3 separate regions of the Homo sapiens genome follow, and regions 2 and 3 are each linked to region 1. The links are contacts of gene promoters, found by promoter capture Hi-C in blood cells and fetal thymus (Javierre and others, 2016). All regions are on one chromosome and are shown on one strand. Each heading gives the region's core, a stretch centred on a gene start or on the middle of the fragment in contact. The rest is flanking DNA. Distances are from core to core; before and after follow the strand shown. Region 1 holds the start of TARBP1 (tRNA guanosine 2 -O-methyltransferase TARBP1). Region 2 has its middle 2.1 kb from the start of RBM34. Region 3 overlaps RBM34 (RNA binding motif protein 34).

Region 1 (3,150 bases), core at 362-2,861:
GCACATAGTAGGGAGCAAAGCTCAAACAGTTAAAAAATAAAATCTGATTCATTCTATTAAATCAATGGCAAAAATACACTCAAAAGGTCGACTTAAGAAACATGTTTAACAAATATTAGTAAATCCTGTTCCTAATTACCAGGGGAAATTTCAGAAGAGTGTGATGGCCTCTATGACGCTTAATTCTAACACTCAACACTCAATTCACTAATTCACTGGTCAGTACAGATAAATAACAAATAATTTTTCTTTCAACTTGATAGATATCAACCGTTTCTATTGGGTTGAATCTACCATGATATAGTGCAGATTTGGGTCTGTAAAATCTTGCACGGGCTCCATTATCTTCCTAAACTATTCCAGGGGTGCTGTATTCCACCGGCTCTGGGTTAGAACGTTCCCAACCGCAGTGATTTGTGACTTCAAAGAACACCCTCGAGAAGGGGTTCCAAAGGTTTTCAGGCTTTAGGGGAGCAACGCGGAATAACCAAATTCTGCATGGATCGGAGTGACGACCCCGATAAGCTAGTTTTTAGAAGCAGGAAGACTCCCCTCTGGGGCAGCCAAGTAGGTAGCACTAGGCTGGGGGGCAAAGAGGCAGGTACCGTTTCCTTCCTGGGGCCCGCAGGTGCAGTCGGCCCCCAGCTCCGCCGACACCTCCACCGCCCTCTGCAGCAGGTAGCGCGCTCGCTTGCGCGTCAGGGCGTCCGCCTGGCCCAGCCCCGCCTGCACCGTCCTCCAGAAGCGCCAGCAGCGCCGGGCGTCCGGGCCCGCCTCGCGCGCGCCGCGGGCGCGGTCGCCGCCGGGCTCGGGCAACAGCTTCTCGGCCAGGGCGCTCAGGACCAGCAGCTTCTCCTCTACGCGGCCGGACCCCAGGGACGCCCCAGGCGCGGCCAGCCCGCCCCACACGGCCCGCAGCGCCGCCCCGCCACATTGGACCAGCACTGGCAGCAGTCGCCCGGCCACCAGCGCCGCCGCGTCCTCGGCAGGCCCGGCCTCATCCCCGTCCCCGCCCCCGCCCAGCGCCAGGGCGACGGCGGTCCCCGCCACGCGCTCCAGTAGCGGCCCGTCCTCGCGGGGCCGCAAACATGGCCCGACGGCTGCTAGCACTTCCACGGCAGCCTCGGCGCCAGGCGCGCGCCACCCGGCGAGCAGATCGCGCAGCGCCTCCTCAGCCAGCGCGGCCGCCAGCTGCGGACGCCCGGCCAGGCGGACGCACGAGCGCAGGGCCGCGCCCGCCGCCCTCAGCACGCGCCGGCGGTGGCGAGGCTGCAGACTGGGGTCCGGGCCGCCCGCGGGGCGTCCGCGCAGGCTCCGCAGCAGTGGCACGAGGTACCCTGCAGCCACCTCGCGCGCCGCCTCCGGGAGCGCGCCTGCGCCCCCGCTGCCGCGCGCCTCCTCGTCCTCGAGCCGCTGCAGAAGGAAGCGCAGCGTCTCCACGCGCTCCGCGGATGCCTCCCCTTGGCACAGCGCCCCAAGCAGGGCCCGGGGGTCCCGGCTCTGCGAGAGCAGCGCTTCCGCGAGCACCCACTCCATTTGCCGAGCGCCCGCGCCACCGGCCCGGGCTCCCAAAGGAAGGCGCCGGCGTGTGCGATGCGTGCGCACAGGACCGGCCGGCCCCTACGTGCGCGTGCGCCGACGGAGCCGGGCGCGCGGCCGCAGAGAGGGGGATCCCAGCCCGGCTTGGTGCAGCTCAGCTTCCCTTGGGTTCCTGCCACCAACCCTGCCTAGATAGAACCCACCTGGTCTCTTATTTTTAGGAGAAACGAGGCCTTCGTTAAAAGTTAATGTAGTATCTACACCAGCTTCATCGATTCCTGATTGGAGGTTGGTCTGCCCAGGACCCTAAATCAGGCGTGCCTGTGAGCATAAACCAGTTCACAGAAGGTGCACAGCAGAATCACTTTAGATTATTTTCCAAACGTTGCATGATGGGCACCATCCACAAAGAGACTGACACAGTAGGTCTGAAATTGGTTCTGGACATCTGCATTAAAAATAAGTCATGAAAACACAAGAATGATTTAGACGTAAGGCCAGGAGTGAGAAGTGTTACCGGTGGAGGGTGTCCAGGTCCAAGAATTGGACAAAGCGCACAAACAAAGCAAAGACAGAATGAAGCCACAAAAGCAGAGATTTATTGCAAAAGTACACTCCACAGGGTGGGGGCAGACCCAAGCAAGCCGCTCAAGGGGGGCTGGTTACAGAATTTTCTGGGGTTTAAATACCTATAGAGGTTTCAATTGGTTACTTGGTGTACACACTATGTAACTGAAGAGGATAAAATGAAGTTACAAAGTTATTTACTTGGTGTACTCCCTATGTAAATGAAGAGGATATTTCCTGTCATAGCTGAAGTGTTTCTATCTGATTTGGTTCTAGGGAGTTTTTGGATTCCCTGCCTCCAGGCCCTATTCTCCTGCCTTAGAGGTACCTATAGCAATGTGCTAGGATTCAGCTAAAACCAAGATGCCCACGCCAGCCCTCACAGCCAAGTGCCCAAGATGACTCCAGGATGCAGAGCCTCCTGCACAATGCATGTGCTCCCATGTGCAAACTCAAAAATAGTCCCTGTGTCTGTCTTTTCTGTATTTCTGACAGCATCCATTGCTAAATAGAGAAACAGAAAACCTCACCTCGGCATGCATGGTGTGGATTTGGTTCCTGGCTCAATTTGAGACAAACTAGATCAGTGACATAGGGTTTTCTTCGCTACTAAACACAAAGATCTGCCTCTTAGTCAATAGAGAAAACAGGGTCCCAACTTCAAAGAGCTTGACATATAATAACATAATGGATAAGACAAAAATTAGTTATTTAAATTTACAGTTATTTTTATATAAAGTTATCTGACTTTAAGGTTATCTGACATTACACAGGCAAGACTTTTTTCATATTTCAGTCATTCCGTTTTTCATTGACAAAATGCATAAATGTTTCTATTTTAAGCCCTTTTAACATGTCAGTAAATATCAATTACCTTCAACATAAAATGTGCAGAAAACTATTGTTTCTGTCAACATATATCTAACAAATATAAATGGGTAAATGTCTTGAGCACTTAACAAACGAAGATACACAAATGATAAGCACTTGGAAAAGTGTTCAACATCATTAGTCATCAGAGAAATGCAAATTAAACCCACAATG
Region 2 (3,150 bases), core at 235-2,734, 680 kb after region 1:
TGGCATTCAAAACGCTTCAAGGTGTTCTCAGCCCGTCTTCCCAGACTCATCTCCCTCCAGCCCCTGACATTCTAGCCTGCTTTCTCCACTGCCTCTACAGTTGTTATTCCTGTCCCCTCTGTTGTAATTGCCCTCCTCTTTCCCCTTCTGCAAAATAATGTCCATCCTTCAAGGCCTACCTCAGATACTGTCTAACTTAGTATTTCTTTGCAGCCAGGTGCGGTGGCTCGCCTGTAATCCTAACACATTTGGAGGCCGAAGTGGGAGGATTGCGTGAGGACTAGGAGTTTGAACCAGCCTGGTCGATCTAGCGAGACTTATTCTCTACAGAAAAGAAATTAGACGGGCACCTTCGCGCTCGGCGCCTGTAGTCCCAGCACTTTGAGAGGCTCGGGCAAGAGGATCCCTTGAGCCCTGGAAGGTCGAGGCTGCAGTAAGCTGTGATCGCATCACTACACTCCAGCCTAAGCGGCAGACCCTGGCTCAAAAAAAAAAAAAAAAAAATTCTTTGCTATTTACAATAGGGATATTTTCCCAAGCCCCCATGGTACTTACTATAATCATTTTTGGTCTGCTTTAGTGTTAGTTACAGTCTCTTTAGATGTAAAGGCAAGACAGTAAGGATTATGTTTTATTCATCATGTATGCTGTGTCTCTATTAGCTGTACATAGTGAATATTTGTTAAATTGACTCTCAGGGTAATAAAAGATTACTAGTTAAATCATCCAATAGTTTGAGTGGCAAAATAGGATTTGACTTTGTTCTTATTTTCTTTCAGACAAGGTGTTGCTCTGTCACCCAGACTGGAGTGTAGTGGTGAGATCACGGCGCACTGCAGCCTTGACTTCCTGGGCTCAAGCCATCCTCCCACCACGGAGTAGCTGGAACTGCAAGCAGCAGCACCATGCCCAGCTAATTTTTTTTTTTTTTTTGGAGACAGAGTCTCGCTCTGTCGCCCAGGCTGGACTGCAGTGGCGCGATCTCAGCTCACTGCAACCTCCGCCTCCCGGGTTCAAGTGAGTCTCCTGCCTCAGCCTCCCAAGTAGCTGGGATTACAGGTGCATGCCACCATGCCCAGCTAATTTTTGTATTTTTTTAGTAGAGACCGGGTTTCACCATGTTAGCCAGGCTGGTCTCGAACCCCTGACCTTGTGATCCGCCCACCTCAGCCTCCCAAAGTGCTGGGAGTACAGGTGTGAGCCACCGCGCCTGGCCTTTTTTTTTTTTTTTTTTTTTAAATAGAGATTGGGGTTTCACTGTGTTTCCCAGGCCGGTCTTGAACTCCTGAGCTTGAGCAGTCCTCCTGCCTTGGCCTCCCAAAGGGTTGGAATTACAGGCGTGAGCCACTGCATCCAGCCAGGATTTGACTTTGAGTCTTTTGGGGACAGCCTAAGCTTTTTGAAAGCTACTCAACCAAGTTGACTGGGAATATATGTGACTTTTACTTCCCCCTTCAGAGAAATTTATGAAAAAAATCCACAATATTCAACTGCTCGGCCCTGGGTTTTGATTACTGGGCCCCTTATTTTGGTTTCCCATAATCTTGATCTTCTGGTATTTCACAAAGATGAAGAAAGCTTATCCATACATGCATGCGATACAACTCAAAAATCTGTTCTATCCAGTCCAGTGAAGAAATTATATTCTATATTTCTAGAATTATAGAATTCTATTCTGTGTATTTTTTGAGACGGAGTTTCACTCTTGTTGCCCAGGCTGGAGTGCAGTGGCACGATCTTGGCTCATTGCAACCTCCGCCTCCCAGGTTCAAGCGATTCTCCTGCCTCAGCCTCCCGAGTAGTTGGGATTACAGGCATGCACCACCATGCCTGGCTAATTTTATATTTTTAATAGAGACAGGGTTTCTCCATGTTGGTCGGGCTGGTCTCGAACTCCTGACCTCAGGTGATCCGCTCGCCTTGACCTCCCAACGTGCTGGGATTACAGGTATGACCCACTGTGCCCAGCTAGGTAGCAGATACTTATAGAAGAAAACAGACTGCGAAAGCAGCTGTGGTTGCAGATAGTTTTAAAATTATCTTCATTGCTGTTCAGTGCTGTTTTTAACCATTTAGAGATCACTTACTGCTTTGAGAGTTTTTTAAAATATGAGGACATGGTGGGACAAGGTGGCTCACGCCTATAATCCCAGCACTTTGGGAGACCAAGACGGAAGGAATGCAAGCCCAGGAGTTTCAGATCAGCGACTGCGCCATTTGCACTCCAGCCTGGGCAACAAGAGCGAAACTCCGTCTCAAAAAAACAAAAGGAGGCCGGGTGCGGTGGCTTACGCCTGTAATCCCAGCGCTTTGGGAGGCCGAGGTGGGTGGATCATCTGAGGTCAGAAGTTTGAGATCAGCCTGGCCAACATGGTGAAACCCCATCTCTACTAAAAATACAAAAATTAGCTAGGCATGGTGGCGGGCGCCTGTAATCCCAGCTAGTCGGGAGGCTGATGCAGGAGAACCACTTGAACCCGGGAGGCAGAGGTTGCAGTGAGCCAAGATGGCGCCATTATACTCCAGCCTGGGCGACAGAGCGAGATTCTGTCTAAAACAAAACAAAACAAACAAAAAAAAGAAATTAACAAGACCCCACTCTAAAGTTTTTTCAGTAGGAAAAAAAACGTTTTGGAGAACACCGTTAAGAAACGTATCATCTTGGGTGGGCGCGGTGGCTCATGCCTGTAATCCCAACACTTTGTGAGGTCAAGGCGGGCAGATTACGAGGTCAGGAGATCGAGACCATCCTGACTAACACGGTGAAACACCCCTCTCTACTAAAAATACAAAAAATTAGCTGGGTGCAGTGGCACGTGCCTGTAGTCCCAGCTACTCGGGAGGCTGAAGTAGGAGGATCACTTGAACCTGGGAGGCAGAAGTTGCAGTGAGCCAAGATTGCACCACTGCACTCCAGCCTGGGGCAACAGAGTGAGACTCCGTCTCAAAAAAAGAAAAAAAAGAAAAGAAAAACATACCATCTTAATATGTCAATTGTAAACTAACTTAGTAAAGTCTAGTTTAGGTGACCAGAAGTAGACATAGGTCAATTCTACTAATTCAATAAAATCCTCAAACCCTCTTAAGAAGGTAGGACGTAGAACAAGAAGGCAGGCGAGACAGAGAGGCACAAAGTCATAAATCTCGACT
Region 3 (3,150 bases), core at 440-2,939, 670 kb after region 1:
TGCCCAGCTAATTTTTTTGTTTCTTTGTAGAGATGAGGTCTCGCCACGCTGCCCAGGCTGGTCTCGAACTCCTAGGCTCATGCAATCCACCCACCTCAGCATCCCAAAGTGCTGGGATTGCAGGCATGAGCCATCTTCCCTGGCCAACATACTGTTTTTGTAAAGTAAAAGACTTTACTGTTGGTAAAGATGTGGGAACATAAATAGGTTGCAATCTCTACGAGACAGCAGTCAAAATTGTGAATGCAAATACCCTTCTGACTGAGCAATGCCACTGCTAGAAGTTTATCCTACAGATAAGTTTAGCTTATGTACAAAATTACCTAAGTACAAGGTCACTCATTTACTCCAACATTATTTGTTTTGTTTTGAGAGAGCGGGTCTTGCTTGTCGCTCAGGCTACAGTGCAGTGGTGTGATCACAGTTCACTGAAGCCTCAAGCTCCTGGGCTCAAGTGATCATCTCACGTCAGCTTCCCAAGTAGCTGGGACTACAGACACGTGCCTCCATGACCAGCTAAAATATTACAGCAGGTTTTTTTTTTTTTTTTTTTTTTTTTGGAAGACAGGGTCTCACTCTATCACCCGGGCTGGAGTGCCAGGGGTGCAATCATAGCTCCACTTCCTGAGCTCAGGTGCTCCTTCGTCTGATTCCCAAGCAGCTGGGACTACAGTGCACAGCATCATGCCCAGCTAATTTTTTGTAGAGATGGGGTTTTGCCATTTTGCCCAGGGAGGTCCTGGGCTCAAGCGATCTGCCCACCTTGGCCTCTAATGGTGCTGAGATTACAGGCGTGAGCCACTGCACCCGGCCTTCAGCATTATTTGTAATGGTCATGAGACTGGGAAAAAACTTTATGTCCATCAGTGGGAGATTTGATAAAATAAATTAAGGCACACCTAGAGAATACTCTAAGAAAAAGGGCATTTTTAAAAAATGCTATAAAAATAATCACTTTCACACCAATATAAACAGATCTCCAAGTTGTACTAAGCAGAAAAAGGGAAGGTGTGGAGTAGTGCATATATTAAATACCAGTGAGTTAAACTGTTTTATGTGGGAAGAAGAACATCTATGCGTATCAGTTTTTAAATGCTAAGATGTCTCTAGAAGCTTACATAAGAAACTAAAAACACTTGCCTAGGGTAGGGAATTGGCTGACTAGAGAAAAGGTGTATAATTAAATTTTATTTATTTATTTATTTTGAGACAGAGTCTAGCTCTGTCACCAAGGCTGGAGTGCAATGGCGTGATCTGGGCTCACTGCAACCTTCATCTCCTGGGATCAAGCGATTCTCTTGCCTCAGCCTCCCAAGTAGCTGGGACTACAGGCATGTGCCACCACACCCTGCTAATTTTTCTATTTTTAGTAGGGACAGTGTTTTGCCATGTTGGCCAGGCTGGTCTCAAACTCCTGGCCTGAAGTGATCCACCTACCTCGGCCTCCCAAAGTGCTGGGATTACAGGTGTGAGCCACCACAGCCAGCCATCATTAAATTTTAAATTAAAAACAACAACAAAAAGGCAGTGGCTCATGCTCATAATCCCACTGCTTTAGAAGGCTGAGGCAGAAGGATTGCTTGAAGCCCGGGGTTCAAGACCAGCCTGAAAAACATAATGAGACTCTGTGTCTACAATAAAATAAAATAAATTAGCCAGGGTGGTGTGCACACCTGTAGTCCCAGCTACTGGGGACACTGAGATGGAAGCATCACTTGAGCCCAAAAGTTTAAGGCTACAGTGAGCCAAGATCTTGCCACTGCACTCCAGCCTGGGTGACAGAGCAAGAGCTTGTATGTTAAAAACACAAAACAAAACAAAGAAACAAAAAAACAATGAGATGGGGCTGGAGGAGAAGCTGACGGTATGGTGTGAAAATTCCAATTTTCTAACATATCCCACTAAACTCCTCAGTAGTACTTGTACATACACCTGTCAGAACCTCTGTTTCTGTTCAAATTTAGGCTCCTGGGTTTCAACTTCATACAGAAATAAAAGTATGACTCAAAAAGAAGGGTTGTATCTTACTAAGGTTTCTAGTCACCACAGCACTGAACAATGCCTGGTATCTAGGAGGATCTGCATCTTTGGTTACCTCAGCAAACACTGTGGGAATCTATATATTTATCAACTCTTAACTATACACCTGGCACTGTGATGGTTATGAGGAAAAACCGGCGAAGACCTGGTCGGCCAAATAACTCCAAATGAAGACTCAATATTGAAATGAAGTCACCAAGATGTCCAAAGGGACTGTTGCCATACAAAAGCTTGATAGAACAGGATTCCCAGAAATGTTTCTAAAGTACATTATTATATTTTATCTAATATAAAGAAATATCTGCTTATAAACTTCATCATTTCATATACCATTAAGAGAGAAAAACACCCAAGATATGAGACTAATAGGAAACCGGCATAAAGCTGAAGGTAAATGAAAAATAAGCCTTCCATATGGAAGGGCGAACAAGGAGACTTGTAGGTTTCATTCTTGACACTGAGTGGGAAACAAAAAAAATCCCCTGAGCACTGGTAACAAGCCACCACCAGTGTGGTCCAAAACCCTCAAACAGAGAACGCCAAGTGGTCACAGGCTGGCAGTATACCCAGGTGACCAGCACAAGCAAACATGAATTCTCTCTGGAAAAACACAGGAAATATGGCATTTGTAATCTGTATGAGAAAATTTAGGCATGAAGCTTTACACTCTCTTCCAAACACTAAAAACATTCTTAAAATTTCTCATGGCTCATTTTCCAGTAATATTTTCTACGACTCTGTAAATTATATTATGGCTTAAAGAAAAACGTGACAAATCTAAAGGCTCTCAAATACAGAAGCAAACAGTCAATCATGCTCTATTATCCAAATATATTAATAAAATCTATGCAATTGTTAAGAAATGGTCTCACTTTTTAGCCAAAAAGGAAGAAAGTTTAAGGTGACTCCCTTTCTCTAATTATAAACTTACTTTATTGCTGCCAACTTTTTGGATAGCGTTCCCTCTGCTGGAATCTTTCAAGAGAAAAAAAAAAGTATTAAAGACAGTATTTGAAGTATTACCTCAAATTAATATTTTAAGTGAAGTCTAAGTATCTAACTCCAGTACACTGTGATCAAAAACATTCTAGGGAAATAAACAAATCAGAA

What was found. Contacts are between HindIII fragments. The CHiCAGO score rates a contact against its expected background, and 5 or more counts as called.
Region 2: a contact is called between a fragment that was not itself captured here and the fragment with the promoter of TARBP1 in region 1, in 1 of 17 cell types (naive B cells). The highest score is 5.0, in naive B cells.
Region 3: a fragment that was not itself captured here is called in contact with the fragment with the promoter of TARBP1 in region 1 in 3 of 17 cell types (total CD4 T cells, activated CD4 T cells and naive CD4 T cells); the score reaches 5.7 in total CD4 T cells.

Annotation. Positions count from the first base shown.
Region 1 is chr1:234,477,568-234,480,717 of GRCh38, forward strand. TARBP1 (tRNA guanosine 2 -O-methyltransferase TARBP1) reads right to left here and starts at 1,612. Exons shown (of 30, transcript NM_005646.4): 1 at 606-1,612. The coding sequence starts at 1,536. RefSeq lists silencers at 709-1,508, 1,539-1,728. The HindIII fragment of the contact is 13,603 bases long and covers 1-3,150 here.
Region 2 is chr1:235,161,774-235,164,923 of GRCh38, forward strand. No RefSeq gene overlaps it. Among named protein-coding and RNA genes, the nearest start is that of RBM34, 2.1 kb to the left of the region's middle. The HindIII fragment of the contact is 183 bases long and covers 1,394-1,576 here.
Region 3 is chr1:235,145,433-235,148,582 of GRCh38, forward strand. RBM34 (RNA binding motif protein 34) reads right to left here. Exons shown (of 11, transcript NM_015014.4): 6 at 2,972-3,015. Among named protein-coding and RNA genes, the nearest start is that of RBM34, 14 kb to the right of the region's middle. RefSeq lists an enhancer at 2,130-2,189. The HindIII fragment of the contact is 1,157 bases long and covers 1,112-2,268 here.